Regions from separate parts of the Homo sapiens genome. Here regions 2 and 3 are each linked to region 1. The links are contacts of gene promoters, found by promoter capture Hi-C in human tissues and cell types (Jung and others, 2019). All regions are on one chromosome and are shown on one strand. The core of a region is centred on a gene start or on the middle of the fragment in contact, and the rest is flanking DNA. Distances in the headings are between cores, read along the strand shown.

Evidence for each region. The method cuts DNA at HindIII sites, captures the fragments that hold promoters and counts their contacts. A contact is called where the count stands out against the background at its distance.
Region 2: a contact is called between a fragment that was not itself captured here and the fragment with the promoter of COMTD1 in region 1, in 1 of the 25 tissues and cell types used here (mesendoderm cells).
Region 3: a contact is called between a fragment that was not itself captured here and the fragment with the promoter of COMTD1 in region 1, in 1 of the 25 tissues and cell types used here (H1 embryonic stem cells).

The regions. Positions count from the first base shown.
Region 1 is chr10:75,233,308-75,237,849 of GRCh38, forward strand. It overlaps COMTD1 (catechol-O-methyltransferase domain containing 1), which reads right to left and starts at 2,650. Exons shown (of 7, transcript NM_144589.4): 1 at 2,528-2,650; 2 at 2,309-2,436; 3 at 1,960-2,065; 4 at 1,753-1,871; 5 at 1,631-1,685; 6 at 1,303-1,436; 7 at 334-918. The coding sequence starts at 2,621. The coding sequence ends at 766. RefSeq lists an enhancer at 599-748 and silencers at 1,379-1,608, 1,769-2,058, 2,189-2,268, 2,429-2,568, 2,604-2,898 and 1 more. The HindIII fragment of the contact is 14,083 bases long and covers 1-4,542 here.
Region 2 is chr10:74,306,267-74,310,808 of GRCh38, forward strand. All of the region lies in intron 3 of ADK (adenosine kinase), which reads left to right. Among named protein-coding and RNA genes, the nearest start is that of ADK, 160 kb to the left of the region's middle. The HindIII fragment of the contact is 5,647 bases long and covers 1-4,542 here.
Region 3 is chr10:74,418,174-74,422,715 of GRCh38, forward strand. All of the region lies in intron 6 of ADK (adenosine kinase), which reads left to right. Among named protein-coding and RNA genes, the nearest start is that of ADK-AS1, 110 kb to the right of the region's middle. RefSeq lists an enhancer at 1-1,069. The HindIII fragment of the contact is 5,136 bases long and covers 1-4,542 here.

The DNA.
Region 1 (4,542 bases), core at 1,400-3,899:
AAGCCTGAAGTTCTCTTCATCCTCTAGGGAGTGTAGTAACAACTGCTGTACCTATAGGCTTGTCTGCTTCACGCCTCCCTGGCCAGTGATCCCCCTCACTTAAGAATTTCAAGGAGACGGCAGGATACTCAAGTCAACCCCACGGCAGGATACTCAAGTCAACCCCGAGGTCCTCAGGTCCAGGCCAACTGGCCTGGCTCTTAGAGGTGATGTTCCCCCACCAGGGCCTCCACTGGAGAGGTGAGGCTGGGGAGCTGACTGTGCTGTGAAGACATGAGCAAGCCGCCAGCAGAACTGGCATCACCTACAAAAGCACACAAGTGACACCCGTGGTCCCCTGCAATCCTCTTTCATGTTGTCAGACACCAGACGTGGCTCTCTACCAGTCCCAGCTGCTCAGAACCAGAGCTTCGCCTGCCCTGAGGGAGAGATGTAGGAGGCAGACAAGCCCGAGGTGCTGGGGTCTCTGGCCATTACACGTGGCCAGGCCAGTTAAAACTTTATAACCTGCCTCCTGCCAGCTGGAGGTTCCTGCAGTTGGGCCACAGACCTGGCGCCAGGGAGGGGACGAATCTCAAGGCCCCTTTCACTGAAGGCAGGAGCTGTCTGTGCTGGGCCTTCCCTCCCTTCCCCATCCAGCGCCACACACGGAGGCTCAGGAGGTCGTGTGTCCCAGCCCCACTTTATTTTCGAATTTAAAACTCAGGGTCAATTCCTGGGGTTCCCAGGCAACCCTCCCTCGAGCCCACTCACTAGGGGCCAGCCCTAGATCTTGAAGGCCAAGGTGAGTCCATCGCCCAGGGGCAGGAGGCTGATGTAGACCCTGACGTCCCGCCGGATGCGTTCGTTTAGGTTTCGCACACACTCGGCCGCCACGTCCCCTTTCGGAGGTTGCAGCACCTTCCCGCGCCACAGGACCTGCGGGAGGGCGGGGCCAACCGGGCCGTGGGAGGCGGGGCTTCGGAGGGAGGTGCTCGGGCGGAAGGCGGGGGACTGGGAGGGAGGTGCCCGGGCGGGAGGCGGGGTCTTGGAGGGAGGTGCCCAGACGGAAGGCGGGGTCTCGGAGGGAGGTGTCTGGGCGGGAGGCGGGGCCTCGGAGGGAGGTGCCCGGGCAGGAGGTGACCAGAGCTGGAGACAGAACCAAAGCGGAGGAAAGCCTGGGTACCGGGGCCGGAGCCCCGGAGGGGGTGTAGCCTACGTGACTGGACTGGGTGGGGCTTTGGGGTATAAGAGGAGTCAAGGGAAAAGATGGGGACCCGGCCCGACAGGGTGCTTTCTCCTCCCCCGCAGTGGATCCCTTACTCTGAGGACGGCGAGGATGCCTCCGGGTCGCAGCAGCTGCAGGCAGCGCTCGTAGTAGGCGGAGCAGTTCTCCTTGTCCGCATCCACCACGGCCACGTCGAAGGTGCCGGCCTCGCCCGCCGCCAGCAGCTCGTCTTGCGGGGGGAGGGAGGGCAGGTGCGGCTGAGTCCGCGGCCCCGGCGGCCCTGAGGCCCCTCCCAGGCCGGCCCGGGCTCTGTGACAACCGGCCCTGCCCTTAACCTGCCCGGCAGGCCCAGTCACAGCTCGGCCACACAGCAGCCTCGTTTGCAATGAATGGCTTCAAAGCCCTTCCCGCTTCGGTGCTCACCCAGGGTCTCCAAGGCGGGCTTCAGCCGGAGGTCGATCTTGTGCTCCGCCTCGGCCTGCGGAGGGAGCGGGTCAGCCGTTGCGCCCCCGCCTGGGGCTGCAGAGCTAGGCGCGGGCGCTCACCTGCCTCCACAGGGGCCGTCCCAGCTCCGGGGGCTGCGCGTCCACCTCGCAGGTCACCACGCGCCCGTCCGCGGGCAGCGCCAGGGCCAGGGCCAGGGCGGAGTAGCCCGTGAAGGTGCCTGGGACCAGGACACAGACGGGCTCAGCCCAGAGTGGGGGTCGGCCCGGAAACCTCGGCCCTCCGGGATCCCGGCCGCGTGCCCCTACCCAGGTCCAGCGCCTTCTTGGCCTGGATGAGCCGCGCCAGGTTGGCCAAGAGCTGGGCCTGCTCGCAGGTCATCATAGAATCCCCCTGCGGCTGCTCCAGGGTCAGCTGCGTGAAAGGAGAGGGTGGCACCAGCCATGCAGGTCACCCACCTTCGCCCTGGGGGTCCCAAGCCCCAGGGGCGCGGTTCTGGGCGTGGCCTGGGGGACTGGCCCTTCGGAACGCCCACCGCACCCGGCCCAGGGAAGCCGGAAGCCCAGGGAGGGCCAGGGCCCAGCCCAAGGTCACACAGCCACGTGGGACCCGCAGGGGTCGAGAGGGACGCCCGTTTCCGTCCCGCGCCCTGCTGACCAGCCTCAGGCTTCGCAGCGCCGGGTGCTCCCGCATGGAGCGGCTCAGAAGATACTGCCACAGGCGGCTGTCCTCGGGGGGAAGCAGGCACTGCTCTCGCCGGCCTCGCCATGGGGGGCACCGCCTCCCTGACGGGGAGAGGGTGTTGGATTAACCTGAGCCACGCCGCGCCCTACTCTGCGCCCGCCCACCCGCCCGCCGGGACCAGGTCCTGCTCACCCAGGAAGAGGCCAGTGGCGAAGGCGGCGCCCAGTGCGGCTGAGCCCAGGGCCAGCGCGGCGGGCACGGAGAGCCGGGGCACCGGCTGGGTCATGGCGCGGGCAGGAGGCGGCGGGAGGCAGTGACAGGTCACGTGAGCTGGAGCTCCTGGGACAGGTCTCGGACTCGCGGGCCCGCCGGGCTCCACCTTGTCGGGGCACTACCCGCGGAGCCGCGGTCTCGGGCATCATCTGGCGGCCACACAGCCTTACTGCAAGCCCCGCCCGAGAGAGCCGGGCGCGATCTGGTGGCCGCGCCGGGAACTGCGCCCCTGCGGGGAGCAGGCCAAGCGCCTAGATCTGAATTTTCCCGCCTGTGCCCGCAGTCCAGGTGCCTGCCTCCATTCCCCTCCTGCCAATGCTTTTTTCTCCTCGCCACCATTTATTCTGAGGCCCCTTGGGGGCATATGTGAATTGTGTATGGAGGGCGCCAGTGTAAGTTACAAGATAGTCACAAGTACAAGAGATAGAGATTAAAGGGGGAAGGCCTCCTGGACAAGATGCCCCAAAGCATCAGGCTGAAGGAGTGAGGGAACTGGTTTGAGGGCATGCAGCCTCGAATTGGGGTTCAGGAGCCCTGGGGTGGGCCTGTGGAACTGAGACCATATTCTTAGCTGTTAAAATCCTGCTTTTGGGGGCCAGATGGATACGAGTGTCTAATCTTGGTCCTGCCAGTCTCTCTGAGCCTCAGTTTCCTTCCTGTAAAATGAGGCCTACAATCTTACCATAAAAGGCACCAGATCCCACAGCTTCGCACACAGTAGCACAATACATAAGTGGCAGCTGCTGTTATGTTGGTAGGTTGGAATGAAGACATCTTGGGGAGAAAGCCGGTGAAGCTCCCTTGCAAGGTTGTTCTGTTGAAACACTGTCCAGAGAACACTGATTGAACCCCTACCATGCGCCAAACTCCGGAGGAGGTGAAAGACGCTGACGCTGTCCTTTTTTTTTTTTTTTTTGAGACTGAGTCTCGCTCTGTCACCCAGGCTGGAGTGCAGTGGCACAATCTGGTCTCACTGCAACCTCCACCTCCTGATTCAAGCGATTCTCCTGCCTCAGACTCTGGAGTAGCTGGGACTACAGGCACGCACCCCTACACCCAACTAATTTTTGTATTTTTTGTAGAGACGGGTTTTGCTATTTTGGCCAGGCTGGTGTCAGACTCCTGGCCTCAAGTGATCTGTTTGCCTCGTCCTTCCAAAGTGCTGGGATTACAGGCCTGAGCCATTGTGCCTGGCGTTGGTGTTCTTTTTTTTTTTTTTGGCAAGGTCTCTGGCAAGGCTGAAGTGCAGTGGCAAGATTACTGCTTATTGCAGCATCGAGCTCCCAGGCTCAGCAATCCTCTTGCCTCAGCCTCCCAAGTAGCTGGGACCACAGGCGGTCACCACTGTGCCCAGCTAATTTAAAAAAAAAAATTTTTTTTTTAAAGAGAAGGGGTCTTACTATGTTGTCCAGGCTGGTCTCGAACTCCTGGCTTTAAGTGATCCTCCTGCCTCAGCCTCCCAAAGTGCTGGGATTACAGGTGTGAGCCCCCGTGCCTGGCCTCTGGTTGGTATTCTTAGTGAAGCTGGTTTCAGAGATGCAGGTCACACACAGCTGGCGGGTGGCCTAAGCTTCACGACTTCTGCCTCTGTGAAATGGCGTTATGAATAGTCCCAACCTCCTAGGGGACCAAATGAGAAAATCCAGGCTGAGGACTTACACAGGGGACCAAATGAGAAAATCCTGGCACTTAGTGAGCTGTCATGTTACCTTTAAAAGGAGTCAAAGTCCGAAGGGCAGCCGGTTATCTTCCTGCTGCACTGCAGATGTCCCCTGGGGTGGAGGCTGTAAGAGCCTTTTTTTTTTTTTTTTTTTTTTTTTGAGATGGAGTCTTGCTCTGTCGTCCAGGCTGGAGCCCAGTGGCGCGATCTCAGCTCACTGCAACCTCCGCCTCCCAGGTTCAAGCGATTCTCCTGCCTCAGCCTCCTGAGTAGC
Region 2 (4,542 bases), core at 1,375-3,874, 930 kb before region 1:
TTGAATTTTTAAATTCTAATATTTTTATTTTATCTTCTTTATCTTCTGTTTCTTTGCTGAGTCTTTTCACTTTTTCTAGCTGTCTGAAGAGTCCTAGTAGTTTGTGGTTCCCTGGAGCTCTCCGCCTTGGTAATCCAGCCAGAGAACTGGGGCTTTATTTTCTCAGCTCTGCACATACTTCCTGTGACTGTAACCATGTCTGGGTCTAAGTAGTAGGCAGATACTCTTCTCTTGCTTTTTTCTTTCTTGTGTTTTAGTCAAATTATTTTACCTCTTATTATAACTTTGTTTATTATTATTTACCAACACTTTATATGCAAATTGTAGATTATTCAGATTGTATCTTCTACCAGAGTGTTCACTCTTTTCTGTATGAGGCTGATACGGAGTGAGGGGAGAGCTTATTACCTTAATAAAAATTAAGGGTTAAGCTAGGTCAAAGTTGATTTTTCAGTGTTGACAGTTCAGTTGAGCCTGTTTGCTTCTGTTCCTAGAGCCTGAACCTCTAGGACTTTTAATTGATACCAGTGGTCTCCGCTCTGAAACAGTCCACCAGAATGAGGGTACCAAACTGACCTCAGAGGTTTCCAGGTTAATGCAGAGGTTTCTAGCTTAATTTCTTTCTGCCTTCAAAATTTGGCAATTATGTCAAAGGGGAAAATGATCTTTTGTTTTAGGTTTTCAGTTTCCAATGTTACTACTTCAGCCTTATGTAATTGCTAAAATCCCTACTGTTTTCCCCCTATTGCCCCCTTCCTTATCATTATCTTCTGCTAAGCACAAAGTGTGAATTTTCAGGTTCCACATGTAACCAGTATAAGTATATCCTTCCCCCCAAACCCCAGTGGAAATGTGCCACGGATCCTTATTTTTATTCTCCACTCCTTCTAGGGCTTTCATTTCTTGCCTATTATGTTTTTAGTTGCTCTTTTCTTGTTCTGTCTTTGTAAGCACAGCTAGAGTCAGAGAACTTTCTGCTTTTGGAACTATTTTGGTTAACCTCTTTAACTTAGCATTCAGTTTCAGAATTCAGCAAATGTGTTTTGGGGCAAACTAGCTGTGTGTTTTAGGTTTGGGAAATGTCAAATTTTGTTTCTCTGTCTTCATGCTTCTGGCTGCAAATGTTGGCAGGTGGAACAAAAAGCTGCCAGTTCTGGCCTGCCCCTGTGAACAGGTCTCACCTCTCCGGAAATTTATCCACTTTGTCCTTGTTGCTTCAGAGCTCTTTGGTACCATTAACAATGTGACTTATGATTTATATGGCCTTCCTAGGTGTCATCAGTAGGAATGTTGGCTGTGATGCAGTATATGCTACCCAGAATCGGAAGTTCCATATATTATGTTTTGATAAGAGATTTTAGGTGTTTGAGTATTTCTGATGAGTGACATTTTTTGAAGTTTGCTAGAGAGAAATAATTAGCTAGTTATTGCTTAACTACTCTCTCTCCATATCTATTACATATGTTTCTGGAATATTTCTATGGTCAGAGAAACTCAGGCCCATTATAAACCATGGACTCTGGTAGAAATAGAAGCTGAAAGCAAACCAGTAAGGGAGGTGGAGTGTATAATTTGTGTTTTGGAAGTACCTGCCGGTGGACTTGGGGGTGATGCTCTAGGTTTACCATGAGATTACTCATCTAATTTTGAGAACCACTGTCCTGCAGTATTTTTCTTTTGCTTACATATGACTTTTTCTTTTTATGATTTAAAACTAAATGTCAACCAGTTACTATTTAATGAAAATCATAAATTGGTTTAGTGAAATTTTGTTGTGTTCTTACAATGGGTAGAAACCTAATGCACTTATCATGCATCTAAATTTAGGAATAATTCATTTTATTTTAATCATCTATACTTATATACAAAATGCTTTTCAGCAGTATATTTGATTATCTTAGGTACAATGATCTTCATGTTCAGAGTTATAAATGGGAATAATTAAACCTTTAAACATATTAGAGTTGAATAAGGGCTTATCTAAGCAATACATGCTTAAAATTGCTTTCTTATCAAAAAAATAAAATTGGAGGTTCAAGAAGTGTCTTTAAATTACAATCCTTATGAACTAATAGCTTAACCTTAGTTTTGAATAACTGTTACTTTTTCCGTCTTTTAAAAAGATGCTTAAAAATAAACGCATGTCGAAAATGTTATTTTGGCTTTTAGCAAACTGACATTTGAGTTTTTTAAAACCTCACTAAACATTTGTGGTAAAAGATTTCAAAGCTTTGAATTTTACAATTTGCCTGTCGATTCCCCCCCTGTGTTATTCTATTAACATTTGATCTTAATAAGTATAACCTGTTTAGAATGACTTATGTTTTTAATTATTTGTTTAGATGAGAAGTTTAAGGAATAACTTCATCAGAAATTCTACTTGGCAGTTATGAATGCTTTCTTAAGGAAGTTAAATTTTTGGAATTTCACTGTAAAGATTTTAATCACATGTCCTATTCTTCATACATCAATCTATAAATGTTCAAAAATTGTTAATGTTGTTTTTATGCTGTGCTGATGTTAACACAACGTGAGGTCTTCTTTCTTCTCCTGATAATATGCTGAGCGCACACACACTCTCATATGCTCACTCGCTCTCTCTCTCTCTCCTTCCCTCCCACCCCTGAGTTTGAAATAAGTTAGTGGCTTTAGTTTCTTTGAAAATGGAAAGCAATTGCCCTTAGGTAGAACTGGAAATTGTAAAGTGTTGGTTTTGTGGACATTTTCCTGTTCATAATTCTTGTTATATCTTATTTATAAGTACTTTTATTCATATAGGAATAAATGATTCTATGTTGAAGGGTATAATCATGAAGTCTTTTTTATTTTTTCGTGTTAGATAAGGAGAAAAATGACACATTAAAAATTACAGTGCTATTTGTGTTTTAAAATTTCTTCTGTCGCTTTTGTATTCCTTATTGTTCTCTTCACTTTTTCTATTGTTTTTCTAGCTTTTCAGGATACATTTTCTAAATGCATCCTAAATATAACTTACAATAGTTGCCTTTTATTTAAAAGTAATACATTTAGTTTCCAACCACAAAGTGTTTAATTCTACATATTTCTATTTTTATTTTACATGATCTTAATATATCCTTGATTACTGTGTTGATCTTCTAGTTTTTAGGCTGCCACTTATACCATCAAAAGCCATTTAAACTGGACTTAGAGGATAATGAATCTAAATTTTCTTATCTTCCTCAAAACAACAGATACAATTAAAGTCACAAATAAGCTGTACCTTCAGAATTGCTAGGAGACAGAACATAGTAAGAATTCAAATCTCTTATAAGCAGAGTTATAAACATCATATTCCAATATTGATTCTGCTGCTTTGTCTGTACATTTGGAGAGCAGAGGTAGCAGGGAGGTTTAAGAGACTGAAAAAAGGGAGAGGGGTGTATGAAGTGTAGATCAGTAACAAACACCATCACTCTTGAAAAGAAAAAGTCCAACAGAGGTCCTAGACCTGTGTTTTAGACAGGTGGGAGGACAGTAAATTAATTTTTAAAGACAAAATAATTATATTGAATGAATTTATTGATCATTTTGTTGAACAGTTAGTATAAGGACATCCCGTATTATATTTCAGCTTTCATAAACTATAAGTGTTTATGTCTTATATTTTGTGTTCTTTCAACTTTATCTTAATTTGCTTCTGTTATTTTTAATGCCATTTTTGTACATTTGTTTAATATTACTATATTCATCTTTGTTGTAATTTTTTCCTGTAATAATGTAACATAAATAATTATAATATTACAAAGTTTATTAAATTTCTTCCAATGATAATTAATATAGTAGGCTTGTGGTGGAAAAATGGATCAGGTACTGTCCTTCCAATTCTGTCAGGCTTTTGATTGAGGTGTTTATATGGCCACCCCGTTCAGACAAAGAATGTCAACCAAAAGGAGAAAGTAAGAAGGAATCTATAAATTACTAAAATTCCCATACTTTATTTCCTATGGAAAAAGTCATGTAAGGAAAATATATAGAAGTTTCCCGTAAAATGTAATAATATCATAAACTCTTTCATCCTTAAACACCTGTTAGTCTTGCCACAGCACAATCAGTTCCCTAAAGATAAATATTTCTTGGTTTGTTAGTTGGCTACTTAGGAGTTCCTTTTCCTTCTTATGAGTTTTCTTCTCTCCTGTATTTCTTTTCTAACACCATCCAACTGGTTATCCAAACTAGCAACCTCAGAATTTTCATCCCTCTTCCACATCTTACATTTCTTTATCACATCCTGTGTCTTCAACTTCGGAATGATTCCTTACTTTGGTCTCGTCTCTCTATCCTGTCTTTCGTATGAGCTATTCTAAAGGCAGGTGGTCTGCTTCTCTTTACTCTGTCCAGTGTTATCATCATTTTTAAAAAGTCTGCTTTTCACACTGTTGCTAAATAGAGTTTAATAATTTCTAGTAGCCTTCAGAATAATGTCTACACTTATTAGCCTGATAGTTACCTTTTCTTTGTCAGTTTTTACTACTTTGATTTTGACCTGCATTTTAGTCTGTGTTTAACTGGTTTTTCTGAATA
Region 3 (4,542 bases), core at 774-3,273, 820 kb before region 1:
AACAGAAACTTGTACTCCCCAAAATAAAATGTTTCTTTGTATATTGTTACCTGCAAGTTATTGATAATGGAAGGAACACCTTTTCAATCCTTAGTCCCCTTTCCCCCAACACAGCTTTTAGATTGTCGATAAACTTCCCAGCTCAGTAATTAACTGAGCTCAGTCATTGCACCCTGTATCATGTGATTTTTTTTTCCAGTGGAATACATTATTAGAGCACTTACACAGCCAGTCTAGCTGCAGCAGCCCAGGCGGCAACAGCAGTGCCATTTTTCACAAAGAAAATGTTGAACAGGAGCCAAATGTTTGGTGGCAGTCTGTTGCTAGGAAATCAAGGTCCTGAGGCGATTAATGACAAAGCAAGCAATAACAAGAAGGCAGAATTACAGATTTAAAAGAGAAAAAAGTGGTTGGTGTTATAATTACCCAAAGAAATCCGCACTCATTAAATTGGCTGTTTTTATGATTGACTTTAATTGGAGGTTAGCTCAGATATTTAGCTCCTTTCCCACCCCTTTAAACACACACAGGCACATAATCTGTAGAACTGCAGACTTGTTTTTCTAAGCATTGAGAGGAGCTTGCCCTGTAATTTGATCCCCACTGACAGATGCATTTTCTATGCTGCCATTTTGAATTAACCTATTGTAGAACAATTTTCTTCAGCCCTGTTGAATAAAACATCCAGTCTGATTACCTCCGATGGATTTGATAGAGTAAAAGAATGTACTTCTCATTGAAGTAGATTGTTTGCATGGACTCTACTGATTGTGAACTCTGCCAGTAAGCACAATCATTTGTAATAAATTTTCAAAGAAATTTGTGAGGAAAAGGTAATGAGAGTCACCCTTTTATAGTTTAATGTTTGGCACCTCCATCAAAATAATATAATTCTTATAAGACAGTGTTATTTTTCCAGTAAGCTTTTCACGTGGTTTTAGAAAAAATTTCTGAATCTTCATTTGGACTATTCATATATTTAGGAATAGAGTCTTGTATTTACACTCTAAAATGACCATTCTTCCTCCCCAACAACAGTATTTTAGTGCAAGACTCAATATGCAAAGCACTCTATTGCAAAAATATTTTTGGTATGTACAATATTTAAAGTGATTTTAAGATTGGCCTATTTCAGTCTTTGAAGTATTTCCCCCCCCCAAAAATCCCTTATTTAAATTTTTTAGGGTGTGATAAAGCATATTACTAGAAAAGCATCAATCGGTCTTTCAGGTACAATACCAGAGGAACCATCACAGTTTATTTACCTTTCAGAAGCTTTAAAAATAAAGTTACATGATGCCTCTGCTCTCCAGATTTCTAATCAAACCCTGGAACAAAAGAGCCAAGCACATTCTATCTGACAATGCACACACTGCTAATCAGATGCCAATGCCAAGCTGTCTGCTTTGTTAAATACTTAGCTTCCTAGAGGCAGGAAGACAGCTGCTATAAGTATGATGAAATTTTGTAGTTCAATCTATTTTTGCTACCCTTGGGCTACCAAGATACTGTTAATTTAGACCACCCCAATTGGTACATTTTAGGGAGTTTTTTAAAGAGTTTGTAATTAAAATGATAAAACATCGTTATTACATTGAAGACCTTCTGTAAGTTTTACATTTGGCAGATACCTACTGAGATAACCCCAGCATGTAATTTACAATGATGTAATGGTTGTAATTGCATTTTAGAAAAAAAGAACTATAGGAGGCAAGTGCTTCCATTAGAAGAGTTTTTAAATCTGCTTCTGTTTCATTTAAATCTACTTCTATCCCCAAATTACTTACTTATAATTGACTAGAGCAGCTATAAACCTTAAGATGCTATCTGAATATTTTTAAAAAGTTATCACCCCAGACACTGCCACCAGGGGGAGGAAGCTAAAATCTTAAAGTTCTTAACTGATGATGATACTGCCAGTAGGTAGATTATATTGCTTAGCCCTACATAGTTAACTACTTCCTCCAGATAATACCGCCTTTTGGGACATGATTCTCACAACCTGTAATATGTGATACCTGTAGACTTAGCACACTATTAATTGTAAATAAAATGGAAACTTTCGTACTCTGGTGGTTGGGGTCAGGAAGGGGAAAGAGGAAGTACAAATAAGCAACCTGGACATTTTTATTGTTTTTCTCTTATCTGTTAGTCTACTTGAAGAGCTATCCTTGAAAGTGAGTGCTTTAGATCTATGAAACTGGGCAGCTATCATAGCACATCTATTAAGATCTAATAATCACATAATTAATGTAGCAAAATGAATAGACTGTAAGGTAGTTTTCTATTTTTTGTTACTACACTGTGGTTTTGTTTTTAATAAATAGTTTTGGCTTTATTTTAAACAATTAAAAATTCAAAATATTTTTATGACCAAAGCTTGTAGGTTCTATCCCTGGAAAATATTTTATAAATGCAGAAAATAGTTGCTTAGGATTGGAATCCAACTCTGTTTACCATGAACAACTTAAAAGTTGATCTCATAATCTTGCATGTTGTGGAATAATACCACGAAAAAGTTAATTAAAGAATTTAGATGTTTGTTCTCCTGTCTAGAACTCAATAACTTTTAAGTAGTAACTCTCCCTACAGTTTAACTGTTAAACAGTAACTCTTCTGACAGTTTTAGGTTTTATTCTGTGAAGACTCATGATTTTTAATTTTTGCATCTTAATTTTTCAGTTATTTCAGGTATTGAAATTACAAACGACGGGAAAGAAAAGTGGTTGACTAAAAAGGGGATACAAAAGGCAATTTTTAGGGCGATGTACTGTTCTGTATGGTACTGTGGTGGTGGATACATGATACTATGCATTTGTTAAAGCCCAAAGAACTGTACATCACAAAGGGTTAATTTTAATGTATGCAGGTTTTTTAAATGTTAGGGATTTCAGGATAGAATGCAAGCTGTAACAAATGAATCTAATTGTATTACAAATGTATGGCATAACTTCACTGAATGGGTGGGGGAAAAGGAGCTGACCTAAGTAACTTTGGAAAATGGTGTTTTGATTGGACAATGTAAAGCTAAAGACTAAGGAACACTATAGAAACACTCTATTCTAGTTGGTAAATTTGTTTCTCATAACGGTATGGGTGAACAGTTCTGAACCTCTTTACATGTATCCTGGGGTTGAACAAATAAGTAAATGGATGATGAATGGTGGAAGCTAGGTTTCTCACTGTCAGGAAGGGATGTTACAGATAAATAAACAAGAGGGGAGAGCCAGAATGAAACCTGTGGTACTGGATTAGAGTTGGAGATATAAGTATTTACTCATGTTTAGCTTAATATATGCAGATGGATAGATGCAGAAATAATTATAGATGCATGTGTATATGTGGATTAGTATACATGCATATGTTTCCTAGCTGTGTTTACTGAGAAGGCCTAGAAGCAGTGATATCCCAGTAGCCACAAACACATCTAACGCTCACATCCTGGTTTGTAAATCCTATTCTCCAATAAAAGGATCCAGGACTCCTTTTAAATATGACTGATTCTGGGGCTGGTGATGGGAAAATACAACATAAGCATGGAATATCTTGTAGTGCCAGAAGGCAAGAGATTTCTTAAAAATAATAAAGATTAAGCATGCCAAAAGGGACACATGAGCCAATGTGAAAGAACTCCGAGTGGCCGTAGCTGGAATAATTAGAGCAACAAAATAAAACATGTAGCATTGGATTAAGGATAAATTATTGAGTAAATATACATGAGTTCACAGTGTTATGTATAAATTGTATAAATAAGTAAATGGAGGAGAAGAGATAAATCTCCCTGACAGAAGAATTCCAAATAACATATTGCCCCCTCCAGAAGGGGGATCCTACTTCCCTTCTCCTTGAGAGTATGAGCTGGATTGAGTGAGTCATATCCAAAAATTGAGTTTGGAAGACAGCGAAATACTGACTTGACTATTTCCATTGGAGAAAGCTGGTAAACAACTATGTTAACTAAGTGATCAAGGTTAACATCACAAATGGGAAGTCATGCTGATGTGAAGAGGTGGAAACTTCATCTCTCTGATATTCTTTCCCTAAACCTGTAGCCTCAATCTAATCATTAGGAAAACATCAGACAAATCCCAACTGATGGACATTCTACCACATAAGTTGAGCATTCCTGAAAACTGTCAAGGTTGTGAACAATGAAGAAAGACTATGAACATCTCACTGACAAGAAGAGACTACAGAGTCATGACAACTAAATGTTACATAGTTTCCTGGATCAGGTCCAGAATAGAAATAGGATATTAGTGTAAAAACTGGTGAAATCTAAATAAAGTCTTGACTTTAGTCAATAATCCACCAACATTGGTTTCTTGGTTTGGCCAAATGTACCACAGTAATGTAAGATGCTAAGATAGTGACATTAGAACAAATTGGATGAGGGGTACATAGGAAGTCTGTATATTAAACTTGCAATTTTTCTGTATATCTAAGTTCCCAAATATAAAATAAATTTATTTGAGGTTGATCAATGGGCTGACTATATTGACAAGATACTGATAGGTTACATGTTGAAGAAAACATACAATA